Regions from separate parts of the Homo sapiens genome. Here all the other regions are linked to region 7. The links are contacts of gene promoters, found by promoter capture Hi-C in blood cells and fetal thymus (Javierre and others, 2016). All regions are on one chromosome and are shown on one strand. Each heading gives the region's core, a stretch centred on a gene start or on the middle of the fragment in contact. The rest is flanking DNA. Distances are from core to core; before and after follow the strand shown.

The links. The method cuts DNA at HindIII sites, captures the fragments that hold promoters and counts their contacts. A CHiCAGO score of 5 or more calls a contact.
Region 1: a fragment that was not itself captured here is called in contact with the fragment with the promoter of EPB41L5 in region 7 in 1 of 17 cell types (total CD8 T cells); the score reaches 6.9 in total CD8 T cells.
Region 2: a contact is called between a fragment that was not itself captured here and the fragment with the promoter of EPB41L5 in region 7, in 3 of 17 cell types (total B cells, naive CD8 T cells and total CD8 T cells). The highest score is 6.6, in total B cells.
Region 3: a contact is called between a fragment that was not itself captured here and the fragment with the promoter of EPB41L5 in region 7, in 4 of 17 cell types (total B cells, naive B cells, fetal thymus and 1 more). The highest score is 9.0, in total B cells.
Region 4: a contact is called between a fragment that was not itself captured here and the fragment with the promoter of EPB41L5 in region 7, in 1 of 17 cell types (total CD8 T cells). The highest score is 5.3, in total CD8 T cells.
Region 5: a contact is called between a fragment that was not itself captured here and the fragment with the promoter of EPB41L5 in region 7, in 4 of 17 cell types (naive CD4 T cells, naive CD8 T cells, fetal thymus and 1 more). The highest score is 6.6, in naive CD4 T cells.
Region 6: a fragment that was not itself captured here is called in contact with the fragment with the promoter of EPB41L5 in region 7 in 3 of 17 cell types (total CD4 T cells, naive CD8 T cells and naive B cells); the score reaches 6.2 in total CD4 T cells.

What each region holds. Positions count from the first base shown.
Region 1 is chr2:119,849,214-119,851,913 of GRCh38, forward strand. All of the region lies in intron 2 of PTPN4 (protein tyrosine phosphatase non-receptor type 4), which reads left to right. Among named protein-coding and RNA genes, the nearest start is that of PTPN4, 91 kb to the left of the region's middle. The HindIII fragment of the contact is 1,505 bases long and covers 647-2,151 here.
Region 2 is chr2:119,780,135-119,782,884 of GRCh38, forward strand. The region is part of intron 1 of PTPN4 (protein tyrosine phosphatase non-receptor type 4); the gene reads left to right. Among named protein-coding and RNA genes, the nearest start is that of PTPN4, 22 kb to the left of the region's middle. RefSeq lists an enhancer at 2,198-2,417. The HindIII fragment of the contact is 5,270 bases long and covers 1-2,750 here.
Region 3 is chr2:119,761,217-119,763,916 of GRCh38, forward strand. The region is part of intron 1 of PTPN4 (protein tyrosine phosphatase non-receptor type 4); the gene reads left to right. Among named protein-coding and RNA genes, the nearest start is that of PTPN4, 2.6 kb to the left of the region's middle. The HindIII fragment of the contact is 3,943 bases long and covers 1-2,700 here.
Region 4 is chr2:119,872,179-119,874,878 of GRCh38, forward strand. All of the region lies in intron 3 of PTPN4 (protein tyrosine phosphatase non-receptor type 4), which reads left to right. Among named protein-coding and RNA genes, the nearest start is that of PTPN4, 110 kb to the left of the region's middle. The HindIII fragment of the contact is 3,701 bases long and covers 1-2,700 here.
Region 5 is chr2:119,810,248-119,812,947 of GRCh38, forward strand. The region is part of intron 2 of PTPN4 (protein tyrosine phosphatase non-receptor type 4); the gene reads left to right. Among named protein-coding and RNA genes, the nearest start is that of PTPN4, 52 kb to the left of the region's middle. The HindIII fragment of the contact is 707 bases long and covers 1,019-1,725 here.
Region 6 is chr2:119,829,168-119,831,867 of GRCh38, forward strand. The region is part of intron 2 of PTPN4 (protein tyrosine phosphatase non-receptor type 4); the gene reads left to right. Among named protein-coding and RNA genes, the nearest start is that of PTPN4, 71 kb to the left of the region's middle. The HindIII fragment of the contact is 3,087 bases long and covers 1-2,700 here.
Region 7 is chr2:120,011,484-120,014,367 of GRCh38, forward strand. It overlaps EPB41L5 (erythrocyte membrane protein band 4.1 like 5), which reads left to right and starts at 1,594. Exons shown (of 25, transcript NM_020909.4): 1 at 1,594-1,727. LOC107985817 (a long non-coding RNA gene) reads left to right here. Exons shown (of 4, transcript XR_001739205.2): 3 at 157-175; 4 at 910-1,221. RefSeq lists a silencer at 1,770-1,939. The HindIII fragment of the contact is 11,072 bases long and covers 1-2,884 here.

The DNA of each region.
Region 1 (2,700 bases), core at 149-2,648, 160 kb before region 7:
CTGTTACCTGCTATTTTTCTTCTGTTTCTCTTATATGTTTCTGTTTCTTCTCCTGTGTTATGTTTTCGTTTAAACTTGACGTTTTACTTTATTTTATATGTTTTTGAGATAGGGTGTTGCTTTGTCACCCAGGCTGAAGTGCAGTGGTTGTGATCATGGTTCACTGCAGCCTCAACCTCCCAGACTCAGTTGATCTTCCCCCTCAGCCTCCTGAGTAGCTGGGATTACAGGCACACAGAAACACATCTGGCTAATTTTGTACTGTTTTTGCAGAGATGGGGTTTCACCTTGTTGCCCAGGCTGATGTCGAACTCCTGGGCTCAAGCAATCCACCCACCTCAGCCATCCCAAAGTGTTGGGATTAGAGGTGTGAGCCACCGCATCCAAGCAAACCGGACATTTTAGATTGTGTATTGTAACTATTGATAATATATTGACCCCTCCCTTCCAAGGCTTGTCGTTATTGTTTACTTGTTTTTCAGTGATTTGATTGAACTATTTTAGCCTCTGATATCTTCTCACAGTGCGCACAGCATTAGGCATTCTCACAGTCACCCTGGGATGACAGTGGTTTATCAGGGCTCTGTTTGACTCCTCTGATTTCTGTTAGGTTAACTACCTCTGTCAGTTTCATATGCAGCTGTTAAGCTTCAATAATTATTGTCTAATTTCTACATTTTTTTCATCAGTATATAAATAGAGCATAAATTGTTCCACAGTCTTGATCCAGTTAAATCTAAGCCCCTTTGCAGGGATAGTTCTTGAGGCCAATCTTTGATGTTTGTTCTGACTCTAGGAGGGTTCTTACTTTATTTGTCTTACCTGCTTATCGTATTTCCCTGGTTATCTCTGGTAAACTAGCTGACGTATGTTGTTTTCAAGAGCACTCTTAGACTGGAACTTCTCTATACTCGCTACCAAATAAAGTCAGTTTCTTTGGGTAGAGTTTTAAAGTTTTCTGTTCTTGTGGCCTGTCTCCCTTTAACACAGCTTCTCCACTGCCCTGGAGCTGGGGTGGGGACAGTGTTCGGCTTCTCTTGGAGTGAAACTCCTGCCTTACAAGCAGGGCTCTTGTAGGGGCAGTGTCCTTTACTTGATTTGCCTCTCCCTACATGGAATTTCTGCCCTATGAGTAAGCTGAGGCAAGGGTGATTAGGGCTCAGTATTCTGGACCATCTGTGTCTGAGGTAGAGTCTTGCCCTGCAGGCTTTGGGTGGAGGAAGGTTGCTTTTGATTCTTTGACATACCATTCTGGAATTTAAATTGTGATAATGTTGCTGGGAAGCATGAGAAGTGCTGGTGGTCTGCCTCTCCTATATCCCTTGACTAGGATCTGGGGAAGAAGGGATTTGCATCTTCCTGGCCATATTTTCCCAGAGTGGAACATTGGCCAGGGCAGAAGAAGGAGGGAGTGGGTTGTGGCTCAAGTGCCACAGGGTCTTGCTGATTTTACTGAGATTGAGTAGACTTTGTGGAATAAATGCTGTTTTCTTTGTTACTTTCTTTTAGGTGAATTCTCCAAGACTAAATTCTTGCTTTTTGTTTTTGTTTTATAATTTTCCCTAATAGTAGTTGTTATGCTCAGGAGCAGATCCATAGAGTTCCTTTCTGTACATTATTACTTGATTGATTTTTAAGCACTGAACCAGCCTTGCATCTGTGGTAAAACCCCATTTGGTCATGTGTATAATCCTTTTGAGATATTGCTCAGTTCCCTTGCTACTATTAATATTTTTTGAGGATTTTTGCATCTGTGTTCATGAGAAACATTAGTCTGTAGTTTTCTCTTTTATACTGTCTTTTTCTGTTTAAGTATCAGGCCAATGCTGGTTTCATAGAGCAATTTGGGAAGTTCCATCCTCTACTGTTTTCTGGAGGAAGATTGTGTAGAATTATTCTTAATTCTCATCTAAATGATTTGTATTTTTTAGACTTCTCCAGTGAAATCAGGCCCAGGAGATTTGTTTTTGGGGAGGTTTGCTTTGAAACTGTTGTTACCGGTGGAAGGTGTCCCGAGTTACCGGCAGTGAATCCTTACAGGTCTGCAGCAACCTTAATTCTTGCCTCCTTATAAGAAAGAATTCCACTGAGGGTCATATGGTAGAAAAAGAGACTGAGGCAAGTTTCAGCAGGAGTGGAAGTTTATTAAAAAGCTTTAGAACAGGAAAGAAAGGAAAGTGCACTTGGAAGAGACCCAAGTGGGCACCAAGAAGGTCAAGTGCCACGTTTAACTGTGATCCTAGGACTTTATAGGACTTCTGGCATCTTGGAACCCTTCCCCATGATTCTTTCCTTACGGTGGGCTGTCCATATGCACAGTGCCCTTCTTACCCTTTGGAAGTGAGCACATGCAGTGGATTTAGGAAGTTTTATACATGCCCATCTGAGGCTTTCTTCCCTTTTCCAGTGGTGTGCCCTCGGAAAGCCAGGCTCTGCTATTTTGTCTCTTAATGCACATGCCTGGGTTCCCTCACCCAACACCTGAGATTTTATTGGATGCCCTTTTTACTTCTCCCTGGGGCCTGCATTCAATTAACACTTTATAATGTTAACAGCTGTAGATTATCAGGAGATTGTCTGTCCCTGCCTCCGGCTGCTGAATTATCTTTAGAGAGGCAATGCAATAATTGTGGAACCATCACCTGATCACCTGACATTCCTGGTGGATGGGGAGAGCCCTCTCCTGCCTGGCTTATGCCT
Region 2 (2,750 bases), core at 200-2,699, 230 kb before region 7:
ACATCTGTATAATCTTGCATAGATTCATTAATTGATACTTTGCTTTCTTGCTCTCTCTTTATATGTACTTTGAAAATTTCTGAACTATTTGAGGATTGCAGATATCATGATCATAACACTTAACCTAAATGTTTCAGCATGTAATCATGCATCTTTTGGTAATAAACACATTCTTCTATGTAGCATGATCACACTCAGGAAATTTAGCATTGACACAATAATATTACCTAAAACTCAGTCTGTATTCCAGATTTCTCCAATTGTTCAAGCAAGTCCCTTATACTTTCTACCCTAACCCCCCGCCAAATCCATGATTGGATCAAGAGCTACACATTGCAGTAGGTTGTTTTATCTTTTTAAATCTACAACGCTCCCCCATCCTTTTACATCTACTCCTCACATTTTCGAAGAATCCAGGCAAATTGTTTTTTAGAATGTTCCTCAATTTGGATTTGTCTCATTGTTTTAGTTTTATTTCATCACTAGATTCAAGTTAAACATTTTTGGCAAGAACACTATATAAGGTGTTATGTTCTCAGTATATGACATCAGGGTGTCTATGATACCAGTTTTGGTGATGTTAAATTTGATTATTTGGTTAAGGTGGGATATGACAGATTTCTCCATTGTAAAGATATCGTTTCCCCTTTGTAATTAATAAGTAATTTATGGGGTGATACTTTTGGATTATGTATCTTGTTACCCAACAACTCTCACCCAGTGATTTTAGCATTTGTTAAGTCTTGCCTGAATCAGTTATAGTAACTGTAAAATGGCATTTTTCTATTTCTGTTCTTCCTTCTATATTTATCATTAGATATTATTTTTAAAAAGTTATTCCTCTCCCTCACTTAAAAACATTAGCATCACTCTGGACTTATGGATTTTTATTCAGAGTATTATAATCTATTATTTATTTTGGAACTTAAGTTGTTTCATATTTCCTGATAGGAGTTTCTTTAAACTGCCTCTCTTTTTCTTTGACTAGTCCTCAGTTAGATTTTGAGGGCTTACTTCCTTACTTACCAGTACAAGACATTTAGCCTCACCTTGTATTTTCCTTGCCCCAGCTCTGAAATCAGCCTTTTTTCTCCAGAGTCCTAATTTCTTTTAGTGAGGAATAGTATATAGTAGGTTAAGTATATTCAGTGTTATTGGAGTATTTTGACTTCTAGGTTCTAGTGGATAATTTTTTAAAAATGAGATTAACCAATGCCTCTAATTCTCATCCAGTACTGCAACCATCTCTGATGCCATATCTGACCTCTTGTGTCCTGTAGCCAGACTCCTGGTTCTCAACAATATTAATATTTATTCATTTGTTCAATCCTATAATAGACACAAAATAGTTTCAGAATGTTGCATCAAGACCACTGTCAACAACAAACTTTATAAAGTTCGGAGTTTTTTATATTTCTTTTGATTTATCTTCAGTGTATTCTGCTGTGGTTAGCAAACTGTGGCCTGTGGGTCAAATCTGACCACCACCTTTTCAGTATGGCCTGTGAACTAAGAATGCTTTTTAAGTTTTTAAGTTCTTTTAAAAAATAAAAAATATTTCATGACCCATGAAAATTACATGAAATTCAGACTTCAATATCTGAATTTAGAATACAGCCATACTCATTCGTTTACATATTGTTTATGGCTGCTTTCATGCTACATAGGTAGAATTAAGTAGTTATACCAGAGATCTTAATGGCCTGTAAAGCCTGAAATATTTTCTGCCTGGCTCCTTACTGAAAATGTTTGTCAATTTTAATACTATTATATTTAACAATTACTGGAATGCTTTTTTTCCTGCGTGATTGTGTTATATATTATTAGATTCATTTATTTACTCAATTTTAGGGAGAAAGGAATTTTTTTTAAATGTTGGAAATTGGCAGTGATCGAATTTTAGAATTAGAAGGATATTTAGTGTTCCTGTAGTCCCACACTGTCCAGTAGGATAACCACTAGCCAAATGTAGCCATTTAAATTAAATATAAAAAATTCTTGGCTGGGCGCGGTGGCTCACGCCTGTAATCCTAGCACTTTGGGAGGCCAAAGCGGGCAGATCACTTGAGGTCAGGAGTTCAAAACCAGCCTGGCCAACATGGTGAAACCCCGTCTCTACTAAAAATACAAAAAAATTAGCCGGGTGTGGAGACAGGCGCCTGTAATCCCAGATACTCAGGAGGCTGAGGCAGGAGAATTGCTTGAACCTGGGAGGCAGAGGTTGCAACGAGCCGAGGTCATGCCACTGCACTCTAGCCTGGGCGACAGAGCGAGACTCCGTCTAAAAAACGAAAAGAAAAAAAAATTCTTAAGTTATATGAGTCACATTTCAAATGTTTAGTCATCCTATGTGGCATGGTTCCTATATAGGACAGTACAGATTATAGATCACAAAAAGTTCTATCATTTTACAGATGAGGAAGTTGAGGTTCAGAAAAATGAAGTGACTGCTCCAAGGTAATAGATAGACAGTAACAGATTTAGAGTGAATCAGTGGCTTACTAGATATTACAGTTGTTGTGACATTTGTAATAGAAAAGAAAGACCCCTGTGTTAGGCTATGAAACCCCCCCACCCCCCTTTTTTTTTTTGAGACGACCTCACTCTGTCATCCAGGCTGGAGATCAGTGGTATGATGATGGCTCACTACAGCCTCAACCCCCCAGGCTCAAGCTATCCTCTCACCTCAGCCTACTGAGTAGCTGAGACCACAGGCATGTACCACTACTCCCGGCTAATTAAAAAAAAAA
Region 3 (2,700 bases), core at 199-2,698, 250 kb before region 7:
TATGGAGAAAGATAAAAGGCCAATGTGTCCGACTTGCAAAAGACAATTAGAGTAGAAAGAAGACTGGAACAGTAAAAGCCAGGGCATTTTTAAATCTTGGTTTTCTGAACTTTAACGTGCCAGAGGAAAAAAATTTTTTTTCAATTTTAAGGGGGAAGGAGATGGCCTTAAAATAAAGGATTGTTCAGAGCCTAAACTGTGCTTAATGGAATAGAGCTAGGTATATCATCTAAATCTTGAATTTGACTAATATAAATTCAGCTTTCTTTTAAAGAAAAAACTCGTAAGCAGAAGTTTGTGTATTCTACAGAACCTCTTCACTAGCTCGTAAGTGTGATCATTTTGTGGACATCACTGTTTTTTTGTTAGAATAAATTTATGCTCCAATTACCACAAAAGCAATTTTTATGTCTCTTCGCATTTTTTATGGTACACATATCTTTGTTACATTTTGCATTGAAACACGCACGGTCCCATAGTATCATAATCTTCAGTGATTTATAAGAGAAACAGTCTATTTTGTACATGGGAATGTTTGTCATGTTGCCAGTCTGTTTTAAAAATTTGGCAAGAGGTTTTTAAAATCCAAGGAGGCACCACTATTTTGTAGTTTTTAAAAATATTAATTGAGTAGGTCCATGTTTATTAAGTTAGAAAATCACGAGTTCCTCAAAAGTAGTAATAGACGAGGATGTGATTTTTCTTACTGCCCATTTTCTAACATCTTAGCTTCAGAGCTGTAGGTATTGAATTGAGTCAAACTTGTGTTTTTTTCTTATGTTCTAATTAAATATCTTTTAAAATGTCCCTAGTAACATTGTTACTTTAAATTTATAACACCCAATTTCTAATTTAGGCTAGGCATAAAACCAGCATTGATTGAACGTACTTGCTAAAAATACTTTCTGGGTCGGATGTACTTAGAATGCAGCCTCAGGAAATTTCATTTGAACTATTCTGTGACCAGTGTACACTTCATTATTGTTGAAGGACTTTTAAAAAAAGTATAGATCTCTCATACTCGATTTAATCAGTTTGAGCATAGATGCCTAACTTTAAAAAAAAAGTATAATAAAGTGGGATAGTAATACAATTTACGTGAGATGGTAATAAAAACTTTTCAGCTTTTTTTTTTAACTTGTATGACTTCGTTAGGTTGTTATTAAACTGTGATTTGTATTTTTAAAATAGTTTTGTCTGTTAAACATAATTGAGGTGTACAGTACAGTATCCATTGTTATCTGTTTAGTATTTATTTATGACTTACAAACTCTAAAAGCGGGATCAGTGATCATGGTTTTTAGTAAGTTGTCTTTAAGGAGCAAAGTAAGAGACTAGCAGAAAATTGCAAGGAGGTTTGTTATTGAGAGTACTTCTGCCCCCCGCTTGAGAGTTAATATGGCCACTTTTAAACAAGAAAAGTTTTCCAGAAACGTGGAAATCTTGTTTGGTGTATGTTTAGGGGCAAATGTTTTAAAGTTTTGCCTAAATTCTTAGTTAGAATGCAAAATTGATCAACTCCCTAGGAATGGTTATTGTGGCTAAATATGAATTGTTGCTCCTATGTAAAATTTAGTTATTGGTAGAAGTTTACTAACTGAGTTGAATTTTGTTGTTTTCCTGGGTTATTGCATGTTATGAAGTTTTTTATGTACTATAATCCAGATTTGTTAAATTTGCCAGTTTACTAGAATAAGCTGTGAAGCCTTGAAGTTTGGCTTAGCATTCTGAAAATCCTTTTTATTGTTTGCCAGGAAAGCACTGTAGGAAGGAGGTGTTATCTCTTCATTTAATATTTAATGAGTAGTATAGATGATGAGATAGGATATAATGTAGAAATACCGTAGAATCTTCTTTATTGATATGAAAGTACCATTGTCTAGGAACAGCATAATTTCTTATCTTTTGCATGAATGGGGAAAAAGAGGAGGGGAAATTTATTAGACTCTTTCATTTCATTAGAGATATCTTCCCTCACATTCATTCTTCATTTCATTATTCTTAAGTAGAAACTTTGGAAGAGAGATGCAAGTATTTGAATTAATTAGTAAGAACAAAATGAAAATTACATCGTATAGACTATCATGAGGAAAATATCAATTTGGGTTGGTTATTGTGTTTGTATTTTTTAACAAGGAGGTTATATAGAGTAGTAGAAAGAAAAAAGGACCCAGAGGGGAAGAGTGTTAATATTTATTGTCTGTTAAGTGTCAGATCCTGTATAAGGGGCTTTTCATGTTGTCCCACTCACCAAGTATGCTTTATGAGGTAGGTATTATTAATCCCCTGTCCTCTCCCTGCCAAATAGAAGCTAAGGGAAATGAAATAACTTGTCTAGGCTCATACTTCTAGTAAGTGGAATTCTCTAAAACTTATTCTTTAGATCGGTTCTGTCCAATTAAACTTTCTGCAATGATGGAAATATTCTTTTTTCCTTCAACTTTATTGAAGTATAATTGACAAATATCATAGAAATATTTTTTGCACTGTTAGTTATGGTAGCCATTAATCATGTGTGGCTATGGAGCACTTAAAATGTGACGAGTGTGTCTGAGAAACTCAATTTAAAATTGTATTTAATTTAAATCAATTTAAATTTATAGCCAGATGTGGCTAGTAGCTATAGTATTGGAGAGCATAGCTTTAGGTCTGACTGCTTAGAAAATCTGAGTTGTAGTATTTAATCTTCCACTGGTTTAT
Region 4 (2,700 bases), core at 146-2,645, 140 kb before region 7:
TCCAAGTTTTCCACACCTTTTCTTTCTACTGTTTTACTAAACCCTATGTTTTTTACTGGATCTAGTGACTCTCCAGAATTACTTTATTTGGGAGATGCTCTTCCTCCCAAGTTTCTAACTTAATTTCTAGTAAGAAATAGGATTGATTTATAAGAGAAACAAAAGGTTAATATCACAATGTATACAGCTACCATTAAGATGAGTAATGGCAGGTATTACAGCTAAAGATTTCTAAAAATGGATAGAAAATGGAATATTTTACAGATGAAATAGGCAGTACTTGATCTTTGCTATCTTGGGCATAAATACTTTCTCTTCCTGAAATATCTTACCTTTAACTCACATCCTTCACTCCCGTCACATCTTTTACCCTACCCCTCTTACCTTCACATTTTTTAAGACTCAGAGTAAAAGTCACTTTCCCTCTCAAGCCTTTCCTGACTACCACTACTCCCCAGGTACAGTTTACCTCTTTCTTTTTTATCTGTAGCAGTGATGATACTTTCTTGAGGTGATATGTTTCATGACTTACCAGTTTTTGAGGATAGGGACCATGTTTTGAACTTATATCACCCCAGTACCTGACACAGTGCCTTATAGAAAATAGGCTTCAAATAATGAATGAGTTAAGGGAAAAAAGTATACATCTAAAACTTGATACTGTGGAAAAGAATATAAGCTAGAATTTAATCTCCAAAGTGATACTGAAACAGATGAAGAAATAAATATATGGCTGTAATTTGTCCAAATTATATTTTCTTTAAGACCAAGGCTATTTACAATAGGAACCCTGAACAGTTTGGAGTTAAATTACTTTATTGATTGATTGAAACAAGGTCTTGCTCTGTCACCCAGACTGGAGTGCAGTGTGCAGTGGTGCGATCATGGCTTACAGCAGCCTCAGCCTCTCAGACTGAACCTCAACCTCCTAGCCTCCCGAGTAACCAGGACTATAGGCATGCACTACCACATCTGGCTAATTTTTTCTGGGTTTTTTTTTTTTGTTGTTGTTGTTGTTTTTTTTGTAGAGACGTGGTCTTGCCATGTATCTTTCCCCTAATTTGCAGAAAGATACAGATATGCAAATAGAAGAAGCTCACTGAACTCCAAGTACAATGAAAATGGTCGAAAGAGTTTTGAAAGCAGCAAGAGAAAGAGAAAAGTGACTTGTCACATAGAAGTGCACCTCAATGAAATAACCAGTGGATTTCTTAGTAGAAACCATGCAGATCTCAAATGTAGAAATTTTATTACTACGTTTTGGCAGATACAAAAATTAACTTTGTCATGTGAAGCAGTATATAGAGTAAACAAGAGATTCTTCCCAGGGAAAAGAATGGGAAATTGGCTTTGAAAAGATTAGAAACCATGAGTCATCAGGTAACCGATTAGCAATGTCTAATCGCTTTGAAAGGTTTGAAAAGATTAGAAACAGAGCTCCATCCCTAAGTAGACACTCCTTCATGAATGGGGTTGATGATGTAGTACCGTCTCTTGTTAGCTATCAGTGTTAACTAGATAGTTATAGTTTCTAATAAAATATTATGACATTTAAAATTCATATATATTGTATTGCAGACAGTTCAGCTTTTCTCAGATGTAGCACAGTAATCCAGCTAGTACAGCAGTTCTTGGCAAAGAAAATGCAGTCTGTAACTAAATATAGGTAGTGATATAACCCCAATGCTCATTTATATAAGAACAAAATTAAGGGTTTATCATATGTGATTTCAAGATGTATTAAAACAGTTACTTTAAGCAGTTCCACTCCCAGATATATATTGAAGAGACTTGAAAATGTATGTCCACACAAAAATTTATACACAGATGTTCATAGCAACATTATTCATAATAACTAAAATATGGGAACAATCCAAATGTCCATCAAGTGATGACTAGATAAACCAAATATGGTATAGCTATACAATGAAATATTCAGCAATAAAAAGGAATGGCATACCACAGCACACTCATTGGGATGGCTATAATTTTTTAAAGATAGTGTTGATGAGGAAGTGAAGAAATGGAAATCTTTATACATTGATATTGGAGATGTAAAAGGTACAGCCATTGTGGAAACAAGTTTGGCAGTTTCTCAAAAAGTTAAATATACAATTATCCTGTGACCCAACAATACTACTCCTAGGCATGTACCCAAGAGAATTGAAGACATGTGTTCACACAAAAATGTGTACACAAATGTTCATAGCAGTATTATTCATAATAGTCGAAAAGTAGACACAACCCAGTATCAGCCATAAAAAGGAATGAGTTATTGTTACATGCCACAATGTAGATGAACCAAGAAAACCTTGTCTGTGAAAGCAGACAAACACAAAAGGCAACCTGTTGTATGATTCCATTCTTACGAAATGTTCAAAACAGGTAAATTTGTAGAGACAGAATGTAGGTTAGTGATTGTTAGGGGCAACAGGGAAGGGTACATTGAGACTGACTGCGAATAGGTACAAGATTACCTTTGAGGGTGATGGAAATATTCTGGAATTAGATAGTGATGATGGTTGCACACCGTAGGGAATATACTAAAGTATAATGACACATACATGTTAAAATGGTAAATTTTGTGGTGCGTGAAATATGTCTCACTAAAAATAATAAAAATAATGCTGAGTCTTGGCATATGCATTTTATAATTTGATAAATTTTGCCAAGTTATCCTCCATTGAGATGGTACAATTT
Region 5 (2,700 bases), core at 122-2,621, 200 kb before region 7:
TGGTTTTCATAAATGTGCTTGAGGGTGCCTGAAAAGAATTTGTTCTTCTAAATAATTTATACATATTCATGGTAATTTTACTTGTACTGTCTGTGAGTAAAATTTTTGCCAAACAAAAATAAATGACAGCCCTGATCTTATCTATCGTCTGAAATATTTATTTAACAAATATTTGTTCATCCTATTTGTGTCTAGCTTTGTTTGCTCATCGTTATTTGTGAGTTTTACCCATGTGGTGTGTTAACAGTAGTTAGTTCATTGTTACTGCTCTGTAGTACCCTTTTGTATGAATATACTATAGTTTACTTATCCTTTCATTTACCATTTACTTGTCCAGTTTATTGTTGGTATATATTTGGATTTGTTTCCACTTTGGGCTCTTACAAATAATACTGCTGTGAACATTCTTGTACATATCTTGATACATATAAAAGTGTATTCTCCCTTTTTATTTAAAAACTTTTCAACCTATATGGAAAAGGTGAAATAATATTATAATGAATACCCTTATACCCTTTACCTAAATTGACCCAGTGTTAACATTTTGCACATTTACTTTATGTTTCCTTCTCTCTACATGACTTTTTTTTCCTGAACCTTTTGAAAGTAAGTACTTCAGTATTCCGAGAATCTCATAATTACCACATCCCTAAATTTAACTTTATGAAAATAATAATATATGCAGTCTGTATTCAAACTGGAATTCTTATTCTTCAGGATGTTTTGGTATTTCCAAATTTTTCAGGATGTTTTCTGCTGTATTACTTGGGTATTTCCACACTTTGAAATCTTTAAGTAATATAAAATATGAATCTTACACCGGGGCCAGTCGGGGGATTAGGGGCTGGGGGAGGGATAGCATTAGGAGAAATACCCAATGTAAATGATGAGTTGATGGGTGCAGCCAACCAACATGGCACATGTATACCTAGGTATCAAACCTGCATGTTGTGCACATGTACCCTAGAACTTAAAGTATAATAATACAAAAAATGAATCTTTCTTATTTACCAGTTTAAGCTTAAAATTTTCTGTGTATTACTATATAGCAGGATTATGAATTTATCTCAAATTCCAAGCTATTTCACATTGAAAAAGGGGCTGCAGAGTAGTGAATATTACATCATTATCATTAAAAATACCTTCAACATTATCTAAAATACCCAACAGATTTAGGATTTAGTGTGCTTTTCTAAAAAGCTAAACTTTTGATTTCTTTTGTATTCTATCATCTGTTAATATATAGTTGGAATATAGGTTGCCAAACAGAGATAACATAAAGTGAAGAGAATTCTACTTCGTACAAATTTCTATTTAATAGAAACTCTCATGTATTAGACAGTTGATGTAAGAAAATAAGCCTTTTTTCCTATTATTCACGTGTTAGAATTCTTTTTTGGAAAAGGCATAAATTTAATAACTTTTGTCTTAGCTTAAATTTAGCTACTATTTAGTTTTCATTTTAACTATAGTTTTGAATGTATTTCAAAATATTGTAAAAAGGTTTGGTATGTTTCTCAGCTAGCATAATTTTCTGTTGAGCACTTTAGTTAACAGTAGTATGCTGTATTTTTCAGTGTAGTAATCAATGTGCTGTCTAGTTACTCTTTTAGAAAGACATATATATTAATGTACTTTTATATGTTTATATTTTAAAAATATATATTACATATATTTAGCTGGCAGTTTCAATAGACCTGGATATATTACCTAGAATGGTAAGTAAGCTTACCATTCTGTGGTGCTAGAAACTTTCTCTACCATTATCTCAGGTCATCAAAAAACTTAAGAGGAACAATATTTATGAAAAATTGCTGGTTATGTGGTATATTTATTCCTCTGGGTATTTGAACCCAAGCCATTCAAACCAAAAGAGTTGCTTTGTACTTTTAGGTAGATTATTTATCTTTTAATCCATGTGAATAGATCTCCAGTTATGTACTTTACAACCTGTGGAGTGGTATGTGGCAGCCTGCAAACTAATTGGGGGTTTGAAAGTTTTGGTGTTTGTTTTCTTGTGTCCACTTAGTACCATTAAGTCTCAGAAATCCTTTGTGGGCAGCTGCCAGGTTCACCAGCATTTCTCTGTTCACCAAGAAGGAGAACTACTCAGTTTCCTTTGGAGACTACCAGGCATTGGAGTCATTGCTTTTCATGAAAGATTTTTGCACCACAGGTAAAATATTCATGTTGCCAAAGCCTGCTTTGTTTCATCTGGTAGTTATCTCATCAAAGCCGTTTCTGTATTTTCTGAGGGAAATTTTTGTAATGAAGGAGTTGATGTAACTTCACTAGATCTTGCTTTTTCTCTGCTGTGGACATAGGAATGATAAGCCTGTTATCACTGGGTTTGTGTTGGCTTGTGTTGTTTCAATGTCAAGTCCTATTTTCACTGTGGCTTTGGTATAACCATTTATTTACTGTGGCCAACCTATGGAGTGTATTGTCCCTCTCATGCCGTGAATTCATTGTCACTAAATGAATTCATGATATGAGAATTCATCTCACCAAATATGTTTGCATTAACAACTCACTAAATATGTTTGCATTAAATACTTTAAAATGCATAGTGTCCGTACTACATGGATTGATGTCTTCAATCTATGAGGATTTTTACCCCTAATTTTTGACTTGACTTTTACTTTGGTGCAGCTGATTAACGTTAGCCTGTATGATGAACAAGGAAGGGCTGGGAGGACC
Region 6 (2,700 bases), core at 104-2,603, 180 kb before region 7:
TCCATTTCTTCTTTTAGGACTGTCAGCTTTTTACTTTGTGTGTTTTTTTTGAACGGTTTAATTGAGATGTGATTCACATTAAAGTGGATGATTCACCTTTTAAAAGTGTATGGTTCAATGTTTTTATGTATCACAGAATTAATTTTTAAAAATTGTTGTAAAATACATATAACGAAATTTACCACTTTAGCCATTTTTATATATACAATTCAGTGGTATCAATTAAGTTCACAATGTTGTATAACCTTTCATGTCTACTTCCAACTTTTTATTTTGCCAAACAGAAACTCTAGCCATGTGGCAGTTGTTCCCATGATTCTCTCCCCTCAGCTCCTGTTAACCTCGAATCTTTGTTTCTCTATGAATTTACCTAGTCTAGATATTGGTTATAAGTAGAATCATACAATATATGTCTTATTGTGTTTGGCTTATTTCACTTAGCTTAATGTTTTCAAGGAAGCATGTAGCATGTATCAGAACTTTCACTTTTTTTTCATTCCAGAATAATGTTTTATTGTATGGGTATACCACATTTTGTTTACTCATTCATCTGCTGACAGGCACTTGGGTTGTTTCTACCTTTTACTTATGTGATTAATGTTGCAAACATTGGCATACAAGTATCTGTTCAAGTCTTTGTTTTCAATTCTTTGGAGTCTATACCTAGGAGGAGCATTTCTGGATCACGTGATAATTCAGTGTTTAACCTTTAAGAAACTGCCAAGCTGTTTTACATGGTGTCTGCACCATTTTAAATTCCCACCAGCAATGTACCAGGGTGCCTATTTATACATATCATTACCAACACTGTTATTTTCCAGGTTTTTTTTTTAATAGCTATCTTAGTAGGTGTCAAGTGGTTACATTGTAACCATTGTAGGTTACACTATTTTTGAGACTGCAGTCATTTACTGCATAATAATGTTTCATGGGCCATAGTCACAAAGGTGTGTATTCCTATATTTTCCTCCAAGACTTTTGTAGTTCTAGCTATTAATTTTAGGTCCAAACTTCATTTGGAGTTAATTTTCTATATGGTATGAGGTAGGGGTCCAATTTATTCTTTTGTATGTGGATATCTTTTTGTCTCAGCACCATTTGTTGAAATGATAATTGATATGGTTTGAATCTGTGTACCCACCCAAATCTCATGTCAGATTGTAATCCCCAGTGTTGGAGGTGGGGCCTGGTGGGAGGTGATTGGATCATAAGGGTGGTTTCTCATGAATGGCTTAGCACCATTTCTCTTGGTATTGTCCTCGCAATAGTGAGTTCTCATGATACCTGGTGTAACACCTCTGCCCTCTCTCTCTCTCTATTTTTTGAGACGAGTCTCTGTCACCCAGGCTGGAGTGCAGTGGCGCGGTCTTGGCTCAGTGCAGCCTCAGCCTTCCAGGTTCAAGCAGTTCTCCTGCCTCAGCCTCCAGAGTAGCTGAGATTATAGGCGCCCGTCACCACGCCCCGCTAATTTTTTATTTTTAGTAGAGACGGGGTTTCACCATGTTGGCCAAGCTGGTCTCGAGCTCCTGACCTCAAGTGAGCCACCTGCGTTGGCCTCCCAAAGTGCTACAGGCATGAGCCACCGTGCCTGGCTCACCCTCTCTCTCCTGCACCTGCTTCTGCCACATGAGACACCTTGCTCTCTCTTTGCCTTCCACTATGATTGTAAGTTTCCTGAGGCCTCCCCAGAAGCCAAGCAGATGCCAGCATCATGCTTCCTGTACAGCCTGTGGAACTGTGAGCCAATTAAACTTCTTTTCTTTATAGATTACCCAGTCTTGGGTATTTCTTTGTAGCAATATGAGAACAGACTAATACAATAATTCAGCAGTACCCAAACTTTTTGGCACCAGGGACTGGTTTCAAGGAAGACAATTTTTCCATGGATGGGGGGTGGCAGTAGGGCGTGGTTTGGGGATGAAACAGTTCTACCTGAGATCTGGCATTAGATTCTAATAAGGAGTTTGCAACCTAGATCCCTTTCATGCACAGTTCACAATAGGGTTCATGTTCCTATGAGAATCTAATGCTATCACTGATTTGAGGAGGTGCAGCTTAGACAGTAATGCTTGCTAGCTCAATACTCTCCCGCCCATCGCTCACCTCCTGCTTTGTGGCCTGGTTCCTAGCAGGCCATGGACTGATACTGGTTATGGCTTAGGGGTTGGGGACACCTACAATAATTCATTTTCACTTGAGTGGTCTTGGTATTCTTGTTACAAATCAACAATAAATGGAATAGTTTATTTTTGGACTCTCTATTATTTTTTGTTCCAATGTCTACCCTTATAGAAGCACCACGTTGTCTTATAGGTTCGTAGAAACTTTTGAAATCAGGAAGTGTGAGTTCTCCAACATTCTTTTTAAATATTATTTTGGTGCATACACATTTAGGATTGCTATGTCTTATTGGTGGATTGGCCCTTTGGTCATTGTATAATAATTCTTTGTCCCTGTTAAACTCTTTAGCTCTGAAATCTATTTTATTTGATATTATAGGCACATCTTTCTTTTGATTAATGTTTGCATGGTGAATCATTTTCATCATTTACCTTCAATCTACCTATATCATTATATTTTGAGTTTCTTTGAGACAACATATATCTGGGTCATGTTTTTTATATATACTCTGCCAATATTTGAGTCCTGGTTGAAATTTGAATTCCTACAGAGAGGACTTTTATTTACTTCTGCAAGTAA
Region 7 (2,884 bases), core at 344-2,843:
TTGGCAGCTCCAGCACCTGTTGAGCTGCCCAGCCAACACCACATGGGGCAGAGATGAGCTGCCAAGCCTGTCTACTACGTTTTGGGGTGGTGGAGGAGTGGGCAGTGCCAAATCCCGAGAAGAAGCTCAATGAGTATTTGTCTCTTTTCATTTCAGCAAGCAGAGGGTCCTCAAGGTAACACCTTCCAGTGGCTCCCCCACCTCTCTCAGAGCTCTAGCCAGGGCCCACAAGGCCCTACATCTTACCCCTTTCCTCTCTGACTGTCACCTCCTCTTCCTCTTGCTTCCTCACTTCTAGCCACACTGGACTTCCTTGAAAAGACAGACCTGTCCCCTTGCAGGGCCTTTTGCCCTTGCTGTTCCCTTCGGTTCTCCCCAGATGGCCACAGGGTTCCTCCCACACCTCCTCTAGGTCTTCATTCAAATGCTACCTTTTTTTTTTTTTTTGAGACTGAGTCTGGCTTTGTCGCCAGGCTGGAGTGCAGTGGCGTGATCTGGGCTCACTGCAACTTCCGCCTCCCGGGTTCGAGCGATTCCCCTGCCTCAGCCTCCTGAGTAGCTGGGACTACAGTCGGACGCCACCAGGCTCAGCTAATTTTTGTATTTTTAGTGGAGACGGAGTTTCACAGTGTTGGCCAGGCTGGTCTCGATCTCCTGACCTCGTGATCCGCCCGCCTCGGCCTCCCAAAGTGTTGGGATTACAGGAGTGAGCCACCGCGCCCAGCCAAATGCCACCTTCTTATTGTGACCTGCTATGTAAAATCGCAAACCCTCACTGCCTGTGGTTATTCCCTACTTGTACTTTTCTTTTTAGCATTTACCAATGTCTGACAGTATTTAATTTCACTAATTTATCTCGTTTATTTTATGTCTCGTTTATATTCCTGCTATAACGTAAACTCCGGGAAGGATTTTTGTCTGTCTTGGTTGTCTGTCGTATCTCGTGTCTAGAACACAGAACTCACAGTAAGTAGGCACTTCAATCAATTACCTGTAGAATGAACGGACTGAATGTCACCTTGTTAGAGTACCCTCCTGACCACACTCTGCTAAGCAGTAATCTTTTATTTCTCTTTCCCAGTTTTATTTTTCCTCATTTACACTTAATCACCTTGTGACACCTATTTGTTTACTGTTTCCCCAGTAGAGTGAAAGTCACTTTAACAGCAGAGATTTAAATGTATTTTAATCCCTACAAAGGAGAAAAAGGGAGGAAATACGTGACAGGCTCTCAATAAGTATTTGCGAAGGATTTAATCTCTTGAACGAATGGATGAATGAATCTAGCAGCCAGCTCCACCAGCCTCCTTCGTGATAGGACTAACTGGGGTCTGTCTGCGGACGGGCGCCTCCTCCGCGGGCGGAGGGCCGCAGCGGGAACTGGGTTTCGGCAGCGCCCCTTTAAACCAGCCGCGGACGCCCGGCTGCTGGCGCTAGTTCCAGCCCGGCCGGGCCCGGCCTCGCCGGTTTCTCTCCAGTCGCCGCGCCGGCCAATTTCCGGGGCGGTGTCATCGCCCGTTTAAGAGCGGAGCGCTCCGCCCTGGGGGCGGAGCTGGGAGGGAGCTTTAAGGGGTGGACGGGCGGGAGGTCGGGGTCCTCCGGGGATTAGAGCCGGTGGGCTCGTTGTGGGCGCCATTTCTCGGCGTCTACCGAGGAGCCGCCCCTTTCTCAGCCTTGCTCGGCTCTTCCCCGCTCTGGTCGCCGGGGCTGCGCCGTCCCCAGCTCAGGTAAGCGCGAGGCCCGGCGGCGGCGCCGCAGTACAGTCCGCTGCGCTCCTAGCCGAGTGGACCCTTCCTCGCCCGCGCCTGCGGTAGCGGCCTTGTCCCCGGGGAGGCGGGCGGGGGCCGCACCCAGACCCTAGGGCGGCCGGCCCCTCTCTCGTCGGGCCGGCAGGGCATTAATCCCGCCGGAGGGAGGGGCGGCGGCGGCCAATGAGGCAGGGCCGCCGAGTTTCGGTCGATACCGCGCGACGGGCCGGGGCGGAGGGCCCGGGGCAGCCGGGTTAATGTTTGCCGAGCGGACGCGCTCCCCGAGCCGCGGGTACCCCTCGCTGGTCCGCTGGGCTGCCGTCCAGCGGGAGAGACAAAAGTCGCAAGGGAAGGGGAAAAACGAACTGAGTTTGTGTCACTGTCTTGGTGGACTTTTCGAGCTAACCTGTATTTGAGAAAAACTTCAGTCTCTTGGGAAAGGAGAGGCAGGTGTGTTCCCATGAAAGACGAGGTCTGAAGGTCCCGCCCCGCCCCCACCCGGGACGGTTGTCGTGCTAATGATGGGTTCTTTGGTGTGTAAATGTTAATTGTGTCTGTGGTTACTCGAATTCTACCTAAGAGCGAGACCCAACTCTTAAAACGTTTGGCAATATTTTAGACTAATATTAAAAGTTTTTAAAGAATTACGGGGAAAATTCCCATAACCGTGTACATTTGTAATGTAACCCACAACTGCATTAACTCAGTTTCTAACATAACCCGTTGCTGAGCTCTAGTTAACCTTGTTGGATTATTTGTGCATGTAATATGCTGTGCAGGCTTTAGAAAATAGGTTAACATTATTCGAAAACGATATGCGTAACTGCTGTTGAATTACTCGCTTGCATTTTCTTTATTGGGAATACTGGGACAAAATATAGTGTTACCTTAAATGGCATTTGCTGTATGTTATATTGCTTTATCAAAAAGCAATTAACCAACCATATTGTGGCCACCAGTCATGTAAGAGTATACATATTTCATGACTAACTTTTGGGTTTTGGGTACTTTTTTTAACCAACTTCTGATAGGATTGCTTAAATTTGCATTTTATGATTCTAAAGGAAATCCTTCTAGTTAGGAACTAGAGTAGAAACTACTGTTTTTTGGAAGCCACATAAACCTACCATCCAAAA